Regions from separate parts of the Homo sapiens genome. Here region 1 is linked to region 2. Evidence: promoter capture Hi-C in 16 types of primary human blood cells and fetal thymus (Javierre and others, 2016). All regions are on one chromosome and are shown on one strand. Each heading gives the region's core, a stretch centred on a gene start or on the middle of the fragment in contact. The rest is flanking DNA. Distances are from core to core; before and after follow the strand shown. Region 1 holds the start of GUCA1C (guanylate cyclase activator 1C). Region 2 holds the start of RETNLB (resistin like beta).

The links. The method cuts DNA at HindIII sites, captures the fragments that hold promoters and counts their contacts. A CHiCAGO score of 5 or more calls a contact.
Region 1: a contact is called between the fragment with the promoter of GUCA1C here and the fragment with the promoter of RETNLB in region 2, in 10 of 17 cell types (total CD4 T cells, total B cells, naive CD8 T cells and 7 more). The highest score is 10.2, in total CD4 T cells.

What each region holds. Positions count from the first base shown.
Region 1 is chr3:108,951,145-108,955,999 of GRCh38, reverse strand. GUCA1C (guanylate cyclase activator 1C) reads left to right here and starts at 2,121. Exons shown (of 4, transcript NM_005459.4): 1 at 2,121-2,441. The coding sequence starts at 2,238. The HindIII fragment of the contact is 5,644 bases long and covers 1-2,977 here.
Region 2 is chr3:108,756,160-108,760,874 of GRCh38, reverse strand. It overlaps RETNLB (resistin like beta), which reads left to right and starts at 3,465. Exons shown (of 3, transcript NM_032579.3): 1 at 3,465-3,816; 2 at 4,287-4,367. The coding sequence starts at 3,690. The HindIII fragment of the contact is 7,429 bases long and covers 398-4,715 here.

The sequences.
Region 1 (4,855 bases), core at 872-3,371, 200 kb before region 2:
GATTTTCCTGCCTCCTTGAAAACTTTTACTACCTTCCTCTGCCATCATCTGTATCCATTTTTTCTTTAATTTAAAAATTAGTGATTAATAAATGTTAATGGTGATAAAAAGTCAGCACCTCTGAGCATCCTCTGGCAGACATTTAGAAACAGTCTTAAAGGGGACTTCCCCAAAGAATGCTTTTTGAAAATTCTAGCAGGATATTTCTCTAATTCCTAGCTGAATAATCCCGAGGCTGAGTCCTCACTGTCTCCCCTTTGTCCTTTTTACTGTCCAAAAAAGAGTATCATTCACTTTAATGGTTTCAAGTAATTCTTTCAAATGGGTTCAAATGGGTGAGTTTTACATTCTATGACCTTATTTTCACCTTTTTTTTTTTTTTTTTTTTTTTTTTTTTTTTTTTTTTTTTAGACAGAGTCTCACTGTCGCCCAGGCTGGAGTGCAGTGGCACAATCTCAGTTCACTTGCAACCTCTGCCTCCAGGATTCAACTGATTCTCTTGCCTCAGCCTCCCGAGTAGCTGGGATTACAGGCGTGCACCACTATGCCCGGCTAATTTTTGTATTTTTAGTAGAAATGGGATTTCACCAGTTGCCCAAGCTGGTCTCGAACTCCTGACCTCAAGGGATCCACCCACCTTGGCCTCCCAAAGTGCTGAGATTTCAGGCATGAGCCACTGTGCCCAGCCCTTTTATTTAACTCTAATTATGACATCGAAATGTCCCATTGAGAGTCTACATTGATATGTTTGAAACAAAATTAACCATATTCACTGTAACCACCACCACTTCTGGTCAAGGCAGTTCATTTAGGCCATGATGGCTACTTCTTAGGAATCAAGGGTTTCATAATAAACAGGTAATCAGTCAGGACTAAGGAATAGGGACAAAGACAGAGACCAGATATATGAGCTGGGCCAAAATGAAAATAAAAGAAAGAATTGAGTGAGGTTAGAAAAGAGAACTGTAGGCCAGGTGTGGTGACTTGTGCCTGTAATCCCAGCACTTTGGGAGGCTGAGGCGGATCATGAGGTCAGGAGATCGAGACCATCCTGGCTAACACGGTGAAACCCCATGTCTACTAAAAATACAAAAAATTAGCTGGGCGTGGTGGCGGGCGCCTGTAGTCCCAGCTACTCTGGAGGCTGAGGCAGGAGAATGGCGTGAACCCAGGAGGTGGAGCTTGCAGTGAGCTGAGATCATGCCACTGCACTCCAGCCTGAGGGACAGAGCGAGACTCCATCTCAAAAAAAAAAAAAAAAAAAGGAGAACTATAATTTAGGGGTAACAGAATTATATTCTACCTGGGGTTTTCTGGTTCTAAGTATGGTTGGTACCAAAATGGGTTGAGGACCACACAAAGCATTCATTTCCACTACTGGACCTTGGATACAGTTCTTAGGTCCATTGACCCTGTTCTTAAGTTCATTGGCAAATGGGGCTTGGTTAGGACAAGATTAGCCAGATTAGAAAACTGGAGTGAGATAAAGCTGGCAGGCCAGTGGCATGTGTAGATACTTGAGAGACCAGAAAAAGGTAAGAACAGAGGGTGGGGGAGAGAAAGGAAGAACACTGCCAGAAGACACAGCCCAATATGTTCCTTTATCTGACTACTACATCTGAAGTTCTTCTTACTACTATTTAATTCTCTTTACCTATTTTTCTCTCTTATACATAGACTTCTTTTTAATAATACTCAATGTATGATTTTTTCATGTAAAATGTTATCTAAATATATCTTCACAATACTCAGGTATGAAAAGGCAGAAACTTTTATTACTGTTTTACAGATGAGGAAACACGAGAATGTAAGTAATGTTTCAATATAGTTAATAAGTGGTAGAACAAAGCATAGAATCTAGGCTTCCTGATTGCAACTCAAAGTTCCTGCCATTAGACCCACTGTACCACTCAATAATGTAGGCAAAATTTATGGCTAACAATATAACAAGGATCACCCTCTCTAAAATATTGCGTGTTCCCTTCACAAAAAACTATGTCTCTGCATGACTGTAAGCATGTTAGTTACCAAGTGCCAAGTGACCTTGGTTTTAAAACTGGGCAGATAAGTTAATCTCACTGGCTTTCTATTCTTATTTAGCTTGTTGCTGTAAGAGGTTTAGAGTAGCTTTCTGAGGGCATATGTTAGCCTTCAGTTTTAGTGAGGAGTAAGGGACTAAATCCAGCAAAAACTTAAGTGAAAACAACCTGAGGAAAAGCTGTAGACTGTGAGTCAAGATGGGGAATGGCAAATCTATAGCTGGTGATCAGAAAGCAGTTCCTACACAAGAGACCCATGTGTGGTACAGAACATTTATGATGGAATATCCATCCGGCCTGCAAACACTACATGAATTTAAGACACTTTTGGGTCTGCAAGGTCTGAATCAGAAGGCCAATAAACATATTGATCAAGTTTATAATACCTTTGACACGAACAAGGTAAGATCTTTCATTTTTCATTTCATTTGAAAATGCTGTGGTTCTGCACTCTTCCCTTTTTTTTTTTTTTCCTGTAAAATAGCCTTAAGTAAAATGTGTACATCCCACTGAATGGAGAGGTCTTCAGGCAACTCACAGCTTGTAGGTAAGTGAGTCATTAAATACTTTTAGTACTGACGGCATGAAAATAATTGGGAACTAGCCTCTCCCACCCTAGGAAGTGTTCTGCATGTAGGGAGTTATTTTAAAACCAGATTAAATCTCGGCATGGAATTCTAATGCTATCATTTAAATAAATCTAATAAGTACAGATTGATTTACAAAGACTGTTTTCGAAGTATTTAATGCATTGGTGACATTTTATAGAAAAGCAAATTACAGGACTCTGCTTTTAAAAGTGTGATTGCATCTAGATTGGCAGATATAATCAATACAAATTAGCCAACATGTTGTCTGTACTCAAATCAAAAGTTAAACTGCTTCATATTACTTTTTTCCCCATAGTTTACCAATTTAGTTTGGGAAAAATGGAAGCTTAACAGTTTTAAATTCAGACAAATTTTTGTTTCTAAAGATTGTTACTCAACTTTTATCTTGAATTTACTCATTCCTGAGGAGCTGTAGTGCATTTAATTTCATTTCTTGAAAAAATACAAAGAAGAGAAAAGAATATATGGAATTGAAAAAAAAAAGAGAGACAAAAAAGCAACAACCTGAAATATCAGGCTCAGGTTCTGCCTGCTTTTACTTGTTTATTTTGGTTATTTTACTGTAGATTTGTATATTTCAAAATGTGTAGATATTGACTAGAATAAAAAGGAACAGAGAAAATGCTAATAGAAAATAATGACTTTAGAAGGCCATCCAACTGATAATAGAAGAGAAAGAAGGGGAGGTAAATTGAGTAAAATTAAAAAAAAAACTGGTTGTTTGATAGGATGTGTAGAATTTAGCAAAATACTTTAAACCAAGAAGCAGGTGACTTAAAAGGAGGTAACAGGCAGGAACTTGGGAAGATTAAACCTGTGCAAAATTAACAGCTGTTTTAATCCTTGTAGCAATGTCAGGAACAGATTTCTTTAGGACATTATGGTATGGTCTTTTGTGCTTTGTTACCAAATATGAGTTAAGCACTGCCTGTTCAGCATGACAGTGCTTTCCTCCTCATCAATTTTACTTAGTGTCAATGCAAGCAAAAGGCGATCTTCAAGGAGCTGACAAATCAGTGGGAAAATGTGACAGATTCCGCTTTTGTTATTAATCCTGGAAGTGTGTTCCAGATACTATAAGCATGATGCCACGTTGTCTTTATTTGCCTCTCCCTGTGTATGTCTCTCTCAGCTCTCAATCTCAGTTTTCTCTTTCTTTCTCTCTGTCATTCTCTGTGCTTCACTCTTTGTATGGCTGCTATAAGCAGCCCAATATCAGGATGAAAGTCTGTTGCTCTAGACAGCAGCTTCTTAGGCTCTAAGTACTCCTGAGAGGTTAGAAAATGAGCTATCGAGTTTTACAGTTATTATCCAAAGGCGTTGATGTCATATCCCATGCCAGCCGTTAGGTTGCTAGCCCAGTATTTGTGAACGCATTGTACATGTCAGTGGTTCACATGCAAGAGTGGGAACATGTGGAAAGGAGTCCTGGGTGGAAGCAAGGATCTGCTGTCAGATGAAGCCCACTGTCAAGGAAGCAGGGACAATGTCCAAACAGGTGTGTGTGTGTCCTTGGTGTGAGAGCCCTCTCAGTGTCCACCACAGGAATGGCCCGACCCATCCCAGGAGCTTAATTTAGATGGCTTGGAAGTTCTGCTGCTATTCATCAAAGAGATTTTATGTTTGCTTAGGAAGGAAGTGAGCCTAAGCAGTAATGACAAATGCCACAAAAGGTGTGGGGATCTCAATATAAAATCAGGTGGTAAAATGACAAGGGTAAGGATTGTTCATTATCAAGTGATACTAAGAAATGATGTGCAATTATGCACAGGAAAAGTCATATATTTAATTAGATGAATTGATAAAACTAGCAACTGTCCAGAATCCCCAAAGATTTACTATTTCTATGCAGCTTCTCTGCAGTTTTCTTTTTTTCTTTGTGTTTTTATAAGTTCGACTTTATTTTTTAAATTTTATTTTTAAAATGAATTTTATTGTGTATGTCTAAGGTATGCAACATGATGTTATGAGATACATATGGATAGGAAAAAGGGTTACTGTAATGAAGCAAATTAACATCCATCATCTCACATAATTACCCATTTTTTGGTCTTTGTGGCAAGAGCAGTAAAATCTACTCATTTAGCATGAGTTGCGTATAAGTATAATTTTATTACTGTAGTCCTCATGGTGTGTGATGAATCTCCAGACTTGTTCCTCCTACATATCTGCTACTTTTATCCTCTGACCTACATCTCCCCATTT
Region 2 (4,715 bases), core at 2,216-4,715:
ATATCTCCAACTCTTACTGTTTCCCTGAACCCCAGATTTGTATACCTAACTCTGTATGCCACAGCTCCCCCTACATTTCTAATAGGTACATTAAATTGACTATGATCAAATATGATTTTATGTTCCCACCATATCTACTGTTCTCCCAGGGAACCCCATTTCAGTAAGTAGCAGCACTCTTCAATAAGTTATTCAAAACAAAACTCTAGATCTGTACTTCTCTATTTCTTCTACACCTTGCATACATCAGCAAACCCTATGGAGGCTCGGTTCTCACTCCTTCCTTGATTATTCTCCAAGACCTAGAACTCTGTAGAAGCCTGCTGCCTGCTTTCCCTGCTTACATCTTACCTGTTTTCCCTCCGCGGTGTCTCTTCCACAGTGGCCATAGTAAGCTTTATAAAACATTAATCAGGGCCAGGCACAGTGGGTCACACCTGTAATTTCACCTTTGGGAAGCGAGATGGGGGGATCACTTGAGCTCAGGCATTCAAGACTAGCTTAGGCAACATAATAAGGCCTTGTCTCTACAAAAAAAAATTTTTTTTTAAATAGCCGGGTGTGATGGCACACTATTATAGTCCCAGCTACTTGGAAGGCTTAGGCACAAGGATCACTTGAGCCCAGGAGTTTGAGGCTGCAGTGCCATGATCACACCACTGCACTCCAGCTTGGGCAACAGAACTAGACCCTATCTCCAAAAAAAAAAGAAAAATTAAACATTAGAAAACCATAAATCATTTTATGTCACTCCCCTGAACAAAACACTACAATAATTTGCTGTCAAATTTATAATAAAATCCAAAGCCCTTACATTGGCTTACAAGCTCTATATAATCTGGCCCTGGTCAGCTCTCTGACTTCTTCTCTGGCCTTCCCCCTATACTTCATTCTGGCCATATTGCCATTGTTGTCATTCTTTCAACACACTAACCAACTCTCTGCCGTGGGCTCTTTATACTTGTTCCACAGGCTAGAACATTTGTCCCAGATTTTCCTGTGACTCACCCCCTCACTTCTTCAGGTCATTGTTACCTTTTCTGAGACACCTTTCCTGAACATACTGCATTATGGGCAATAGCACAGTGGCACACTCTATTGCCTTGTCTTGACTTATTTTTCTTTACAGCATTTCTCAATACTTGACCATATATACATACATATGTATGTATACACATACATACATATGTATGTATACACATACATACATATGTATGTATACACATACATACATATGTATGTATACACATACATACATATGTATGTATACACATACATACATATGTATGTATACACATACATACATATGTATGTATACACATACATACATATGTATGTATACACATACATACATATGTATGTATACACATACATACATATATATATGTATATATATACATACATATATATATATACACATACATACATATATATAAATACAGTATATGTATATACACTGTATTTATCTCCCCCATTACAAAAGGGCAAAGAGCTTGTCTACGTTGTCCACCACTGAGTCAGCAGAGCTAGAGCTGGTAAAGAGAAGCTCTACAAATTTTCATTGAATTAGCAAACAATTAATCAACCCATCATGTATCCCAAATCCAAGTGTATGCTCTTTCTTATTCTCCAGTCTCATTTTTCTTCTCTTCAACTCCTGTCTGGTAATTGAGGAAGCATCCTTGCCTTTTTGCTGGCATCTCCAGGCCTCATTTCTCAAAGTTGCCTGAGAGAGATATGTATAAGTAATAGCTGTTCATTAGAGGGCATCTCCAGGAAAGTGGGCAGAAAGGCTGGTCACAGAGGTAGAGCCCAGCCTTTCCAGCTCTGACTGCCTCAAGGAATAGTCACCTAACTGCCTTTTTCTGCTTCTCATTTTATTTTATTTTATTTTATTTATTTTTGAGGCAAGGTCTTGCTTTGTCATCCAGGCTGGAGTGCAGTGAAACAATCTCAGCTCACTGCAACCTTGAGGCTCAAGTGATCCTCCTGCCTCAGTCTCCTAAGTAGCCGGGACCACAAATGCATGGTACCACTCCCAGTAAATTTTTTTTTTTTGATAGAGTCTCACTATGTTGCCCAGGCTGGTCTTGAACTCTTGTGCTCAAGAGACCCTCCTGCCTCAGCCTATCAAAGTATTGGAATTATGGGCATGAGCCACAACACATGGCCCCTTTCTCTGCTTCTTCATCTGCACTTCTTTAAATTTTATTTATTCATGGTGGCCACATGCCCCATCCTAGATGAGGAATCATGGCATCCTCATTCCTCTTGGCCATATGTGAATCCTCAAAGTCCTCAATCCCTTATCCATTATTCTAAAATCTAAAAGGCTCTAAAGATGAAAATGTTCTGTCCTAAATTTGAGGCTAACTCATTTGGCAGAAAAACTTGGCATGGCCTGGTGTGAGGCTCTTTATGGTCTTTTATTTATCCCACATTAATATTCATACATTTTGCATCAGGCTATTTATGCATTAGACTGCAGAGTGCTGCCCCCAACCTCCTTGGTGGTTTAACATAATATACAGAATTTGCACCTTCCATAATCTGAAACATTCTGAGTTCTGAAACATACCTGGGCCCCAGGTCTTGGATAAGGAATTGTGAAGCCCAGCTCTCTTTTTCAGCCATAGCTGATAGAAAGGGAGGTTGTGTGACCCAGAACCAAACAGTGGAATGTAAGGGGAAATCTTCTTGAGCTTCTAGAGAAAGATCTTGCTCTTAAAATAAAAAGGTAAAGCCCCTACAGAAAGTGGCCTTGCCCCACTCCTTCCTTCCTGCTCAGGGTCTGGGCTGAGGATGTGGCACCTTCTACCTTGTGACCATGAGGAGACAAGATCGAAAGATTAGCTGAGAATGGTGGGGGAAAAAGGGAAACTTTATGAGCCCCCAAAAGAACTCTGGAATCATAAACCATGCTTCTAGTTAAGTAAATACTGAACTTCCTTATTTTTAATCCAGGATTAATTAGTCTTTCTGTGACTTTCCTCCAAATGAGATTGGCCAGGGACAATAAAATGGTGTCTGAACAGGTGACAAGTAGGGCCCTCCCTCAGCCAACAGAGATAAGAAAGAGCATACACTTGGGTTTGGGATAGATGATGGGTGGATTAATTTGTTTGTTAACTGCAAAGTAACCTCTTCCTGATGAAGGATCAAACAAGAAGCCTATAATACCGGCAGACCACAGAAGGCCCAGGTGCTAGCCTTATCGGGTTGCCAAGAAGAAAGGAGAAGGAGAACAAAAAGGCAGGAGGACTCCCTTGGCAGAGATCCAGAGCAAAGGCAGCTGTTGCTTCTCATGAACACTCCAAAGTTTATCACAGTCACCTGTTACCCTAGCTGGCACAGGTCTTTGAAAGTGTGCTGGGAGTGTGTTTACATGTTTGTGTGTGCTTGTATGTTAAAGGTGCCCAGGTTAATACCAGGTGTATTAAAACGCCCTTGCCTGGCTAGTCCTTGTAGACCTTCTCTGAATGTTTTGGTGAATAAATCTGTTCTTCAGCAACCCTACCTGCTTCTCCAAACTGCCTAAAGAGATCCAGTACTGATGACGCTGTTCTTCCATCTTTACTCCCTGGAAACTAACCACGTTGTCTTCTTTCCTTCACCACCACCCAGGAGCTCAGAGATCTAAGCTGCTTTCCATCTTTTCTCCCAGCCCCAGGACACTGACTCTGTACAGGATGGGGCCGTCCTCTTGCCTCCTTCTCATCCTAATCCCCCTTCTCCAGCTGATCAACCCGGGGAGTACTCAGTGTTCCTTAGACTCCGTTATGGATAAGAAGATCAAGGATGTTCTCAACAGTCTAGGTAACTGACTGGGGTAGGGGAAGCGGGGGGTTGACCCTTGCTCATTTCTCCTGTTCTTAAACTCTAGCTTTGTCTCTATCCCATCCCAAGATCCCAACCAAGCCCAACCCCTGATGAGGGCTTTCTACACTACCCTACCCGTGTTTGAAGTCTTGGCTAAAAGCTGAGGTTTTCCTGATGAGGAGGAAGAGGTGGAGGAGAATGGTAGCTGTAATTTATGAACACTCATTATGAACCAGGTATAATCCAAGTTTTACGTAGATTATTTCATTTAATTCCCACAACCATTTTATGAGGTAAGGACAACTATTACTTCTGCTTTAAAAATGAGGAAACTAACCTTAAAAGCTGATGAGTAGGCTGATTCTGGACACAGTGTCACCTCCAAGGTAGAAGACAATTTGGAAGGGGATAAGGGGATTATGGGGAGGATAGCTCATGGGATGTACCCTTTCTTCTTTCCTACTCAGAGTACAGTCCCTCTCCTATAAGCAAGAAGCTCTCGTGTGCTAGTGTCAAAAGCCAAGGCAGACCGTCCTCCTGCCCTGCTGGTGAGTAACTCCCTGAGAGGGAATGGCGACTACGATGCCCTGTATCCTCCCCTGTCCATCTCCCTGCACCTACGTCTTCCCCCATGTCAGGTCTGTATCACCCTGGCACCCTGGGGCTGAGTCATGACTCTTGGTTCCCAGAGACCCCTTGCCCATTCTTGTTTCCCTGAAGGATGCTACTGGGGGATCTTGGGCTTCTGCCTCTTCCTTTCACCCCTTCACTTCATGCCCCTGTTTCTCAGCCCTTCCTCTCCTCCATTGTCCCATAATGATCACATACTTCATTTCTCTTTCCAATCTATTCCTCTGTTTTGATGGGTAGGGGCCAACAGAGAGGTGAATTTATCA